Regions from separate parts of the Homo sapiens genome. Here all the other regions are linked to region 2. The links are contacts of gene promoters, found by promoter capture Hi-C in blood cells and fetal thymus (Javierre and others, 2016). All regions are on one chromosome and are shown on one strand. Each heading gives the region's core, a stretch centred on a gene start or on the middle of the fragment in contact. The rest is flanking DNA. Distances are from core to core; before and after follow the strand shown. Region 1 overlaps LOC100505711 (a long non-coding RNA gene). Region 2 holds the start of MDFI (MyoD family inhibitor). Region 3 overlaps NCR2 (natural cytotoxicity triggering receptor 2).

The links. The method cuts DNA at HindIII sites, captures the fragments that hold promoters and counts their contacts. A CHiCAGO score of 5 or more calls a contact.
Region 1: a fragment that was not itself captured here is called in contact with the fragment with the promoter of MDFI in region 2 in 2 of 17 cell types (fetal thymus and M1 macrophages); the score reaches 6.8 in fetal thymus.
Region 3: a fragment that was not itself captured here is called in contact with the fragment with the promoter of MDFI in region 2 in 1 of 17 cell types (M1 macrophages); the score reaches 6.6 in M1 macrophages.

The regions. Positions count from the first base shown.
Region 1 is chr6:41,377,199-41,381,540 of GRCh38, forward strand. It overlaps LOC100505711 (a long non-coding RNA gene), which reads right to left. Exons shown (of 3, transcript XR_108647.3): 3 at 4,194-4,342. Among named protein-coding and RNA genes, the nearest start is that of NCR2, 44 kb to the left of the region's middle. The HindIII fragment of the contact is 4,260 bases long and covers 1-3,627 here.
Region 2 is chr6:41,636,262-41,641,162 of GRCh38, forward strand. It overlaps MDFI (MyoD family inhibitor), which reads left to right and starts at 2,207. Exons shown (of 5, transcript NM_005586.4): 1 at 2,207-2,391; 2 at 2,478-2,564. The coding sequence starts at 2,489. RefSeq lists an enhancer at 4,280-4,860. The HindIII fragment of the contact is 14,281 bases long and covers 1-4,901 here.
Region 3 is chr6:41,348,902-41,353,613 of GRCh38, forward strand. NCR2 (natural cytotoxicity triggering receptor 2) reads left to right here. Exons shown (of 5, transcript NM_004828.4): 5 at 1,777-1,988. The coding sequence ends at 1,963. Among named protein-coding and RNA genes, the nearest start is that of NCR2, 16 kb to the left of the region's middle. The HindIII fragment of the contact is 3,939 bases long and covers 593-4,531 here.

The sequences.
Region 1 (4,342 bases), core at 248-2,747, 260 kb before region 2:
GATCGCTTGAGCCCAGGAATTCAAGACCTGTCTCTACAAAAGTACAAAAATTAGAGCATCTGTAGTCCCAGCCACTGGGGAGGCTGAGATGGGAGGATCACTTGAGCCCAGGAGGTCGAGGCTGCAGTGAACTGTCATGGCACCCACTGCATTCCAGCCTGAGCAACAGAGTGAGACCTTGTCTTTAAGAAAAAGAAAGAAAGAAGAGAAAAGAAGAAGGAAAAGAAAAAGAAATCAGACCCGAAAGTACATTCTCTGTGGTTCCATTTATTTAAAGTACAAAAACAGGCAAAATAAATCTATGTATGCTATTAGAAAGCAGAATCATGGTTACTTAGAGAAGGCATGGCTAAAAGGGATTATGAAGGAGGTTTCTGGGCCAATGGTGGTCTTCTGATTCTTGATGTAGTTACACAAGTGTGTTCAGATTATGCAAATTCATTGAGATGGGTACCTATATTAAGTGCATTTTGTGAATTTATAATTATTAAAGCCTGAAATTGGAAATTTCTTCTCCCTAGTCCTCAATCTCATTCATACGCTCACATATTCTAATGCTGCAAACTCTACAGTAGCAGGAAATCAATCAATGAATCATGTTTGGCCCTCTTCCCCTGTGTTCAACACTGTAAAGTATCTGTGAATATATTTTAGCCCCTGCCTTCAAAGATTTGCAATCAAGTTTGGGAGGCAGATAGACACCCAGGAAATCACGGAGGAGATATCTAATGGAATAGAATGAGTAGTGGTTTATGCCTCTGTCAGGTGAACCTGACAGCTGGGGCCAAATCCCAGCTCCACCACTTACTATCTATGTAATCTTGGACAAGTGACTTCACATCTCTGAGCCTCAGTATCCTTATCTGGAGTATGGAGAGGAAAATGCTAATATTTACTCACGGGGATGTTGTGAGGATTACACCAGATAAATATATTTCTCTATAACAGCAACAAAAAATGGAAAATGAAATTGTTCCTTTTAAATGCTGTATTAGTTCATTTGGGTTGCTGTAACAAAATACCATAGACTGGATGGCTTGTAGGCAGCAGAAATTTATTTCTTACAGTTCTAGAGCCTGGAAAGTCCAGCATCAAGACACCAGAAGATTTGGTGTCTGGTGAGGACCCACTTTCTCACAGACGGAACCTTCTCATGAGAGTAGTGCCCATAAATGTTAGCCACTATTTCCACCTGGTATGGTGGTAAGTCTGGTTTGGGCTGCTCAGAGTTCAGACAAGAGGATGGTGAGTATGAGTTGGGGTGAGTGTGTATCCTATAATGCACAGAGCAGCTTCCACAACAAAGAAATTTTCCAGCCCAAAATGCCAGTGATGCCAAGGTTAAGAACCCTTGATGTGGAGGACAGAAGGGATTCGGTGGCAAAGGGAGAACATTCCCCAGGAGGGGAGAAAGATGTGCTCTGGAATTTCTGATGTGAACTGAGGGTAGGTAGCATTGGAAGTGACCAGAGGAGTCCCTGTTCTAGTCTTCATCCCTCAGGCTGCAAGCTCCTCATTCACCTCCCTGATTTCAGAATTTGTGGGGGGTGGTTTATTTCCTGTTCTCAAGAGATACTTGGAAAAAGCAAGGCAGATTCTCAGGAGATTTACAAGGCCACAGCATCGCGTGTGCCTTGGAACCACAATTGGAGGAAACCCCTAAGTTGGAGGCATCTGACCCTCTCCCAGAGGCTCAGAAGGGGAAGGGACTTGTCTACTGTCATGCAGTGCAGCTGGGAGTGCTGAGACTCTACCCTTGAGCTCTGTTCTTGGTGTACAGAAAGTTAGGGGAGAAGGGATTGCAAATCTGGATTAAATGATCTAGAAGCGGAAAATATGACACATGTTAATAGTCAAAAAGGAAAGTCAGCACCGAACTTTGGAAGTGTTCAATAGAACAATGTGATTGTCTAGGGGTAAGTATAATTCTTGGTTCTAAAATCATGCCTAATAGACATAGCATTCCAGAAAAAAGGAAATTTACATTGGTTAATCACATTTTTTTCCAGAAGCAAATTCTATTTGTCAGGCACTGTTCTAAATACTAGGGATACAGTAATGAACAACAGAGGCAAAGCGAACCCTCATGGGGCATATATACTGGGGGAGAAGGATGATAAATAAAACAATGTAATGCCAGGCATTTAACTGAGCACCTACTATGGGTTGGGTGTCCCTTATAAATGTCCTCAGTTTCACAAGAACTTTTAAGATAGAAATCTGCAGTTTAAGATGGAGAAACTGAAGTTCAGAGAAGGCAAGTGACTTCCCTAAAGTAGAATGACTAATAAGTGTCAGATTCAGGATTTGAACTTAGTAGGCCATTCATGATAAACATAGTACACTTAGAGGGAACTTCCTCAATCTGATAAAGACTATCTACAAACTCCTACAGCAATAATTATGCTTAATGATGAAATAGTGAAAGTTTCCTCCTTTCTATCAGGAGAAGATACAATATCCAGTATCAACACTTCTATTTAACATTGTATTAGATATCCTAGCCCGGACAATAAGACAAGAAAATGAAATAAAAGATTTAAGGATTGGTAGAGGGAAAGGAGAAATATTATTCATAGATGATATGATTATATAAATAGAAAATTCAAAATAATCTGCAAACTACTGGAATTAATGGTGAATTTAGCCAAGTCACTAAATAATAAGATTTTTGTTGTTGTTATTGTTGTTTTTGTTTGTTTGCTTTTTTTTTTGAGACAGAGTCTTGCTCTGTTGCCCAGGCTGGAGTGCAATGGCGTGATCTCAGCTCATTTCAACCTCCGCCTCCTGGGTTCAAGCAATTCTCCCACCTCAGTCTCCTGAGTAGCTGGGATTACATGCATCCATCATCATGCCTGGCTAATTTTTGTATTTTTGTAGAGATGGGGTTTCACCTTGTTGGCCAGGCTGGCCTTGAACTCCTGACCTCAGATGATCTGCCCACCTCGGCCTCCCAAAGTGCTGGGATTGCAGACATGAGCCACTGTGCCCAGCCTAAATACAAGTTTTTTTAATACAAGATTGATGCATTAAGATAAATTATATTTATCTATAACAGCAACAAAAATTAGAAAATGAAATTATTCTTTTTAAATGCTGTCTTAGTTCATTTGGGCTGCTGTAACAAAATACCATAGACTGGGTGGCTTATAGGCAGCAGGAATTTATTTCTCATAGTTCTGGAGGCTGGGAAGTCCAGCATGAAGGCAGCAGCAGATTTGGTGTCTGGTGAGGGCCCACTTTCTCCAGGTGGAGACTTCTCACTGTGTCCTCACTTGCTAGAAGAGGTAAAGTAACTCTCTGGGCCTTTTTTATAAGGGCACTAATCCCATTCACAAGAACTCTGCTATCATGACCTAATCGCCTCCTAAAAGGCCCCACCTCCTAATGCCATCACCTTGAGGGTTAGGATTTCAACATATGAATTTAGAGGGGAGACGTATTCAGACTGTAACAGATGCAATAGGTGGGTAATAGCTAAAGGGCATGAGGTTACTTTTTAAGGTGATGAAAATGTTTTAAAATTGACAGTGGTGATGGTTACACATACCTACAAATATTCTAAAAACCATTGAAGTGTATACTTTAAATGGGTGAATTGTATGGAATATGAATTATATCTCCATAAGCTTGGATTTCTTTAAAGATGAAGGGCAGGTATTGCTGGGGTTCTCCTTCCTACACTACCAATCACTAGTGCTTATGAAAATCCCTTCTAAAAATACAATTTACAATAGCAGCAAAGCCCATCAAATGCCTAGGAATAAATCAAATGAAAAATGTGCAAGACCTCTACACTGAACTACAAAGCATTATTGAGGGAACTTAAAGACCTAAATAAATGTAGGGTTATACCATGTTCACAAATGGGAAGGCTCATATTATAATGATGTCAGTTCTCAAAACGAATGCATAGATTCAATACAATTCCAATCAAAATCCCAGCAGGTTTGTTTTTGGAAATTGAATTCAAGTGGATCTGGCTCTATGGCTCACTGGAACATGGACATTATAGAAAAAGATCCAAGGGTCATAGTGTCCCCTATGTACAGGGTTTATAGGCAGCTATAGTTGAAAGACCATCAAGACCACGGGACCCTGAAAAACTCATTTGGGAGTAGAATGAGGAGATAAAAAATATTCTCAGTTAAAACAGACTCTTACCATGCTTTCAGTAGACACAAGAGAAAGACCATAATTGACTAAATATATTTTCACTTAAATAAGAGTGGTAGAAAGGACTTGTCACCTTTCATAAGTGATATCATTAGGGATATGGCTACCCAGCTGGGGATATGGCTCCCTTCATTGTGGATATAGGTGTGCAGGATTCCTCTGGCAA
Region 2 (4,901 bases), core at 957-3,456:
CCAGCCTGGCGGACAGAGCAAAATCCTGCCTCCAAAAAAAAAATTCCTTATCTTGGCATCCCCGAAATCTTGCACACCAGGTGAGTGTCTCACTTACCTCACCCCAGTCCTGGTCCTGGGCCCCAGTGCTCATCCCTCCTGAGGCTGAGAGGCAAAGGGATTTCCCCAAAGAAATATAGTAGATGGTGGGTCTGGAAACTGGGCTCCCATGCCAGGCCTCCAGCCTGGCCATCATATCCTATCATGCTCTGAACTGGAATGTTGATTTTAATGTGTTGATTTTTAAAAACTTTTTATTCAAGTATAATAGTCATACAAACAAGTGCCTGCATCATAAATGTTCAGCTTGCTGCATCCTTACAAAATGAGCACACCTGTATAACCAGCATGCGTGATTAAATTTAAAGCATAATTTACATTTCCAACAAAACAGACATTAGTACTGGGCCAGATTCAGAGGACTTTTGAGATCAAGCAGGCGACTTGGAATAGTAAGGCTCCGGGACTGAGCTGATGCAGAGTTTAGGGGCCCTGGATTGAGACGAGAAAGCAGGGGGAGGGGTGCAGCACTGAGGTCTGGGGTTCGGGAGGGGGCCCTATACGCGGGAGGAAACGGAGAGAGACGGTGAGGATTGCCTTCGGAGGTGGGTGAGGCCCAGCGTGCGCGCCCAGGTAAGCAGGTAAGAATGCAGCAGCCGCCAGGCCCAGGCGCGGGCGCGTCCCGTCCGGGTGACTCAGCCCGTGCCAGGAAGCGGGAGTTGGCTCAGCTCTCCAGAGCTCCCGGACAGCAGCCGGATCCCGGCCGGCTCCTGGGGCACTAGGACAGACCCCCGCGGCTAGCAGCCCGGCCTGGGGGGCGGAACACTCTCTTCTTGTCCCGCCCCACCTTCCTCCGGGCCGCAACCACCCCAGCCCATCGCTGGGACGTGGCCGCGGGTGCCGAGAGCGCTGCCGGCGCCGTGGGGGCCATCCCGGTCCTGGCCCCGACGGCGCCCCAGGACCTGCGATAGCCGTAAGTAGCGACTATGGGGGCTAGGAGAGTCCAAGAAGTGGGGAGCTGGGACGCCCGGCCTCCTGCGTCCCAGCTCTCCACTTCCAGACCCGGCTGGACTCGGGACTAGAAAAGGTGGCCTGGTGCCGCCGCTGCCTTCCAGTGTGCTCACTGGCCCTCGTGGCGGGGAGCCCAGACGCGGCTCCTAGGCGGCCCTAGACAAGTACGGCCGAGACGCTGTCACCCCAGGGGGCTGCCCCACCTGAGCATCATCCCACGGGCCCGCCCAGCCCCACCTGGAGAGCCGCAGGCTCCAAAGTCTTCCCCATTCTCGGGGACCAGGTTCCGGGGTCGCGCTGAGGGCCCCTGAACCCTCTTGGACTGCCTGGCAGCGGCTTCTTCCTACCACCACGGCTCACCATCCAGACGCGCCGCCCGGCTGGCCCCACCGGGAGAGGCTCCCTCCCTCCCCTTTCTCCCCGAACCCTCATCTTAGAAGCCCTCGGATTCAGTCTGGATCCCAAAGAAGGGCTGAATTCGGAGGACCTCTCTTTGCCCCCAAAGTCGGTTTTCTGACACACATTCCCACGCACAGCTGGTAGGGGCAGGAGGGTCGAGGATGCTCTGGGCTGCTGCGGCACAGGGCAGGCTGGTTGGTCACTAACCGGATTTCCCGGACAGACAACTCTGGCGCTGTGGGCGGGTGGCCTGGGAGCCCAGATCCCTGTCCCTGGCTTAGGACCCCGGGAGGAGACCGAGGGGGTGGGTAAAACGTGACTGAGAAACTTGATCGCGCCCATCTTTGGGGCAAAGAGATTTGGAGGCCGCAATTATTCAGACAGTTCCACGAAGTGGTTGAGGTTTCTCTCTTTCTCCTGATTTTCCAGAAACTTTTGCAGAGTTTGGACAGGCAAAGGAAAACGTGCAGCCCGCGGATCTCCGGGCCTCAGAGAGCAGGGAGTCGGGGAGACTGAGGCCCCGCTCCGAGAGCGCGGAGGAAGCGCGCCCAGCCGGCTTCCTGTGGGGGCTCGGGCCTCGGGCGCCCCGCGGACAGACGTGTCCGGCTCCTGGCTGGGCCAAGCCCGGCGCGGGGGAGGGGACCCGCAGAGGGGCGACTGAGAAGGCGAGGAGGGGGCGGGGAGAGGGTGGGCCAGGGAAGAGGGGAGGGGAGAGGCGAGTAGGGGAGGAGCGAGGGGGGCTGGAGGGAGAGAAGGAAGAAGGAAGGGGCGAACGGCGTGAGCTGGCGCCGAAATGGGAGAAAGCAGCGAGTGAGAGGGGAAGGGGCGCCAGGCGAGCACCCGGGAGCCAGCGGGACCTGGGCAGGGGCGCCCGGAGCAGGCGCGCATGGCGGGCCCCGCGCGGGGATCCGGCTGGAAGAGAGCGTAGCACGGCTCGCACGAGTGAGTGGACGTGGGAGGCGCGCATCTGCGGGGGAATCGCCCCTTGCCCGCCTCCGGCGCCGCCCGCTGAGCCCTGTTTTCCGCAGGTCCGGGGCCGATGTACCAGGTGAGCGGCCAGCGCCCCTCTGGCTGCGACGCGCCCTATGGAGCCCCCAGCGCAGCCCCGGGCCCAGGTAGGACCGGGAGTGGCGAGCGAAGCTGGACAGGGGCGGGTGGGCGGCTGAAGGGGCCAGTTATTAGTTCTCCTCTCCGTCCCCAGACGCGGGGAGACCGTTCCAGGGAGCTTGGTGGGGGTAGGGACGAAAAGTCTGGGTTTGAGGACTTGGTCCAAGGAGAGTAGGGGGCTGGGCGAGGGAGGCAGGGCCCTGAACAGAGGCTGCGGCTGCGCCAAGTTGGCTCCAACTCCCCGCAACTCCCGACACCAGACACACACACACACACACACAAACACACACACATACACTCCGCGGTGTCTGTCCGTCTGGGATTTGTGTCTCAACTGTTTCTGCCCAGTGTGTAAATATTTGTGGGGGCCTGGTGTGGGGGAGGGGGCGTTGTCTGAATCTTTCTCTACTTCCCTTCCCCCAGCCCAACCAGAGCCCAGCGCTTCCCGAAAACTTTTGTCTGCCGCGAGCGGCTGCAGGACCCAGCCCCTCCCCTCTTTCTTGCCATCCCTTCTCCCTCGCCTTCCTTCCCTCTCGTGCCGGCCAGTCCCCGCCGCCCCTGCCCTGTGCACACACACGCACCCCAACCCAGTGTCTTCAGCCCAAGTGAAATGCCCCGTCCCGCGCCTGGCGCCGTCTGTAACCTACCCGCGATTCCTGGGGGAGCCTCTCACGCCAAGTACGGTTTGTGACTCCCTGAAGGGGTTTGGAGTAGGGGCCTCGCCGGCCCTGGTTCTCAGTCCCTTCCCCTCACTGGCCAGATGCCTAAGCCGAAGCTCCCAAATGGAAGTCCGGGTCAAGGAGAAGTCAGGAACCTCTGGGATGTGTTCAGGGCCAGGGGAACCGCGTGCAGGAGTGTGGACCCGGATTTCATAATTGGAATCTCCACTGTCTAAGTCGTTGCCTTCCTCCCCACCAGCGCCATTCCCCCTTTCCCCTCTTTGACTCTGAATAATGAAGGTCTGTTCCTGAACCTCTGACACGAACTCCCTGCCTTGCCTTGGACAAGCTCCTTCCCTTCTCTGGCCTGAGCCTCCACATGCGCCCTCGAAGCCGGCCTGCCTGCCTGTTCTAGGAGGCCCCTCTCCACTCCCCACCTACTTGGTATGGACGCCTAGTTGTGGAGGTGGGGGGTCCTCTAAACCAGAGTGAGGACAAGTGGAAGATGTCTGGCCAACAGCCAGCACATAGATGAGGCCAGTGTGTCTACAGCCCATCTTGGCCAAGCCTCAAATTGCCTGCTGTCTCTGTGGGGCCCCTGCAACGGGGCCTTCTGCAGGATGAGCGCCTCCAAGAATTGGACTCCTTCAGCCCGGAGGGACAGCTGGGGGCAGGGCACTTGGAAGGGTCCTTCTCTGTGTCTGGGAACCTTCCCTGTCCCGCTGGGCCTCCTTCCTGCCTCCTCCCTTCCTCAGCCTCCTGCTCTCCCATCCTCTTACTCTCTCCAGCTTTCTCCCTCCCCTTATCCATTTTCTCTGCTCTCCCTCCACTACCTCCTTCCAAGATCCCCTTCCTTGTTGAAGCCATTCTCAGCTCCAGCAGCAAGAGGAGAGGGCTAACTGCACACAACCGGGGCCAGCGTGGGCAACTGGGAGGGTTAAGCTCTGGGCTGTAACTTGAGGCCCCCCAGCACCCCAGCAGACCCCCTCCCCAGCCTGGGCTGGGCCAGACAATGCGGCTTTCATAACTCAAGGCTTCGCTCTGCCACCGCCTTGGGAGAATGAGCCTGCTGCCCAGGAAGCCCAAACCGCAGGAGACCCAGCCAAAACCCCACAGATGCCTGAATTTGAGACCAGAATCCCCCACGCTTTACTCCCTGAGTGCTGACAGAACAGCAAGGCCACAGCGCTGCCCCAGGGGCTCTGCTGGCAGGACAGCCAGGGAGCAAGTCGGCCTCCTCCCTCAGCCACCCCAGATGCAGACAGGGCACAAGGGGACTCAGGGCAGATCTGGTAGGGGCAGGTGGCCAAGCCCCCACACCCTTGGCTCTCCTAGTGGCCTCCTCCCCACCCACCCCTGAGAGCCCCGGGAGCCTGGCTCCCTAGCCCACAGGCACATTTTTGCCCAGCATTGGGGCGTCACATTCCTGTTCATGGTTCTAAATTGAATTTCCTGGGGATTTGGAACCTTCAGACCTAAAATAAAACCAACTTGTCCCAGACTAACTGGCCAGCTCAGGCCCTCTTTAGTTTTCAGCTTGGTGGCCTGGGAGTGTGACCATTGGATTCGCATCAACCATGTGTGCATCAAAGGAGTCCACCCTCTCTGACTTTCTTGGGGTTCAGGTCCAGGTGCCACCCCTAGTCTTCATTTCTTTCTCTTTCTCCTTCCCCTGACAGGGGCATT
Region 3 (4,712 bases), core at 1,312-3,811, 290 kb before region 2:
AGGATAATGTCTTTATACTTCTTAGAAGATCTAATGTTCGACTGAAAAATCTATGAAGCACGCACCCTTAAATTCATGAAAGGGCCTTTTGCCTGAGACACTATGTGAAATAATAATTATTATACATTATTGAAATCATTATAATTTTATATAAATTATTATAGTTTATTATATTTTTAATATATTTTATAAATTTTTTATATTTTTATTTTTTATATTTTATTTATATATTTTATATTAATTTTTATTAATAATTTTAAATAAATTATAATTTTATATATTATGCATATATTATCATGTATATAATTTTCATATATATATATATTTCTTTGACCCTAGTTCCTGACACAGAGCTCCTGAGACCCTTATAAATGGGAGTGCTAAGATAATCTTTTGTTCTCATATTTGGTCTTTGACCTCTGCTCCTGACACAGAGCTCCTAAGACCTTTCTAATCTCCTGAGTGATAGGAGTGTCTAACACAGAGGTCCTACCTCCCTTGGAATTTCCTGGCATCTTTTCCTCTAAAGAGGTGACTCTTAGTGTGCTCTTGGATGGGGGCTGGTCACCAGAAGGATCAATCCATGATTGAAAGCTTGGAACTTTCACCCCACCTCCCATACCCCAGGGAGGGGAGGGGGCTGAAGACTGCATTAATCATCAATCAAGCTGACATGATGAAGTCTCTGTAAAAATCACAAAAGTAAGGTTCAGGAGCTTCTGAGTTGGTGAACACATTCATGTGCTGGGAGGTATGGTGCACCCCAGCTCCACAGAGACCAGAAGCTCCTGCCCTCCAGCCCTTCCATACCTGAAAACAATTTGGTTTTTCCTACTAAACACACAACTTTCTGAGGTCTTAACAAAGGATTTTACAGCATAGCCTTGGTTTCATCTTTAGACCACATATTCCTGAACGTGCCCTGGATTTGATTTTAGCATCATTTACTGTCTGGAGGCTGAGAATTTTTTAAGTCATCAAGTCCCAGCTCCCTCATGTTGAATAATCCTGCCTAGAGTTTACCTCTCACCTCTCTCATTTCACAATGAGCCACAAGAAGAAACCAGGTAGCACTTTCAAGAGTTTGCCTGGAAATCCTAGCTGTACAACCCAGCTCATGAGGGACATTTTCTACTTTCCACATTACTGCAGATGACAGTGTTGCTAAACTTTCTGCCATTGTGTAACAAAGAACCCCCTTCCTTTTTACCAACTAAATGATGCTGGAAAAGTTTCTTAAGGTCTCTACCCCGAGTCTTCTTATTGGTAAAAACAGAACTGATAACACACATATTACCAAGCTATTTGGATTTCTAAGTAGGGTGATGTATTCAAAAAGCACCAGACAAAAGGAGAACACCCAACAAAGGCTGAGTTTTAGAGGGAGTGAGGTGTAGAAGAAAGCAGACTCAACTGTGACACAGCAGAGACCATCTGCCTTTCCAGAGCTTACTGCAGCTGAAAAGACAGATAATAGTGTGTGGGCAGAGGGTGAACCTGGAGACTTGAAGGAAACAGGCCCCTCTTCTTGGTGGACAGTAGAGGAAAATAAAGGAAAAAATCAGGGTGAGGAAACTGACCAAACTGGGCTCAAAATCCATGCATGCTCACTGACACTTTTCTGGCAGCAGTGGCCAGGAGCAGACTTCATCCTTGTGAGGTGGGTATGGCAACCAACCCTGCGAGTAGTGGGATGGGGAAGGGGTTGCCTCTGCACCTATGTGCAATTATGTGGCAGTCTCTGACCACCTTCCTGGTTTCCTGCTCTGATTGCAGGGGGGACATATGGTGGAAAACCATGATGGAGCTCAGGAGCCTGGATACCCAAAAAGCCACCTGCCACCTTCAACAGGTCACGGACCTTCCCTGGACCTCAGTTTCCTCACCTGTAGAGAGAGAAATATTATATCACACTGTTGCAAGGACTAAGATAAGCGATGATGATGATGAACACACTTTGTGAATAATAAAATTATCTGAATGTTTTATTCCTGTTGTTTCCTAAGTTTCCTTCAAACTCTGTCTGCATCCGCACATTTGATCTCTAGGGGACCAGCTTCTCTAGTTTGCCCTCTTTCCTCCATCATAACCCTTTCTTATCTTCAGTTCACCTGATGTCCCCTGTACGTCTGGGAGCTGCCTTAGATGCTGTTATAATCAGGGAAGGGCACTGTACACAAGCCCAGTGAGTAGAAAGGCTGTGGGCGAGCAAGGCTTGGAAACAAGACCTGGGTTTGTTTTCTCAGCTCAGCCCTGTATGAACTCGGACAGATAGGTCACTGCCCCTCTCTGAACGTCCGTTTCTTTCTCTAGAAAATGAAGGGGGTGGAGATGAGTTCTGAAACCCCTTCCCCATGAGGATAAGTCAATAAGCATGAACTCAACACCTGCCTGTGCCCAGCTCAGGGACCAAGCACCACAGGACACAAACAAAAGGAGCCAGCCTGGGAACACAGTTGTGAGTCCATAGGTGGCGGGGCCCCTGTGCAAGATTCCAGCACAGGCTGAGGGAAGGGGACAGTGGAGGGGGAGCAAAGCTGAAAATATGTGGCTGGAGAGGGATAGAAAAGCAGGACACTAGTGGGTACCAGACAGTGGGGGAAGGAGCCCAACAAGGATGAGGAACTTTGCTGTGAAGTCATGTTAGTCAGGATGCCATGACCTTCCATGAGCCCGAAAGAGGGCACACAGTCCCAGGAAGGAGGCGAAACCCTGCCCCATCTCTACTCACCCCTAAGGTTCTGGGAGCTTCCTGGTATCCAGGGAAAATTTAGGCTCCCAGGGTCTGCGGTCTTTTTCTTGGAAACCCCAGTCTCCGGCTTCCTGTTTCCAGTTTCGCCTTCCTTCCTGGGCTCCTCTGGGTACCAGGCTCCATACCCTGCCAAAGGCTAGAAAGTCTGCGGACAGCCGGCCGGGCGTGGTGGCTCATGCCTGTAATCCCAGCACTTTGGGAGGCCGAGGCAGGCAGATCACCTGAGGTTGGGCGTTCGAGACCAGCCTGACCAACATGGAGAAACCCTGTCTCTACTAAAAATGCAAAATTAGCCGGGCGTGGTGGCACATGCCTGTAATCCCAGCTACTAGGGAGGCTGAGGCAGCAGAATTGCTTGAACCTGGGAGGTGGAGGTTGCAGTGAGCCGAGATCGCGCCATTGCACTCCAGCCTGGGAAACAAGAGAGAAACTCTGTCTCAAAAAAAGAAAAAAGAAAGTCTGGCGACAGCCAAGGTTTCAGACAGACCAGAGTTTCTGCTTATGGTTGAAGTGCTGAACTTGTTGGGTCTAAATGTGAATATGCACTGAGTAGTAGAGTCTATTAAGAAACTATTTTTAATTGCATTGGCTGTGATCATATTAATTTGCTAAGCAGCAAGAGCTCTTGTTTTAGAAATGTATGATAAATTATTTAAGGGTGGAATGTCAGGATATCTGCAATTTATTTAAAAATACTTCCACATAAAAAAAAATACCGTGAGTTAAAAATACAGAAGTGGAGTGGAGCACCTGGCCCCTGAGCTCTGATGATGACAGGGCCTGCTATAGGCCCATCCTGTTCCTCCATGGAAATTAGACAAATGACCCATCTTGCAGAGAGATCACAAAAAGGCACACACACCCCCACCCCCAGCCCCGGGCCTACTGATTACAAAAATGCACCCTAGCCAATACCTGGTAGAATTCCAACCCTGCTGGCCCAAACACCCAGGGACTTCCTGTGGTTATGGGATAACAGCCAACACAGCCACCATCGAAGCAGAGTCCACAGTCTCAGCGAGGTGCTCAAATCTTGGTGCAGCCCTGAACTTGACATTGGTCAGCAGATCTCCACAACAGCTGCACCTAGAGTTGCACACACCACACCAGCTTTCCTGGTGTTTTTCTCTTTTCTTTGTACATTATATGTAAACATCATTTTTCCAATTCTAAGAATCCCGACATTCAATAAAGGGAAATATGTTAGATTCTTGTATCTACTATTTTTTCCCCAACCAACCTTTCTCAAGCATTAGTAGGTAAGAGAGCAGGAGCAAGTGGTCCAGCCATGCTTCCAGGGCTGAGGCTTTCCTCTCTCCTCCTCCTGACTCCCCTCCTCCTGAACAAATCCTATTCCCTCCCAGCACCCTCTCTGAGGATTCCTCGGTCACCACCCCAAGAGCTCAAGGAGAAGCGGCTTGGTTGGGAGGACCCTCTCCTCTGCCTCTTGCTGCTAATGGCACCTGCACCTAGTTTGCAGGTGCCCTCAGCTTCAGATGGGGGACTGGGGAGGAGGACAAGAAAGAAGGCTGGAGAGGGAAGTGGGGCAGGAAGAAGTGACCTTGCAGCCAGAGGACCAGCAGGAGGCTGATCCCAGGGGTGGGTATACATGTGGCCGCTTCCCCTTCCCCAGCCCTCCAGGGCTCCCAGATCTGATGCTCCTGAGGAGAAAAATCTGAGCCTGAGGAACTGAGGGAAGGGAACAGGAAGGGCCTCTGTGGGGAAGGGAGAGCATCTCAGCCAATCACCGTGACCTGCCAGTTACCTGACCAGGCACAAAGCTTAACTATGTCCTTCCCATATTTGACCTGGGACAACACCCTTTCGTCTGGCTTTGCTGCCCTCCCCAAACTGGGCTGCAAGAAAGGAGCTCAGGCACAGTGGTGGGAAACAGTGTTCCCTGCAGCTGTCAGTATTTCCAAAGTTGTCACCAAGTGTCCCCAGGTGAGCTCCTCCCCTG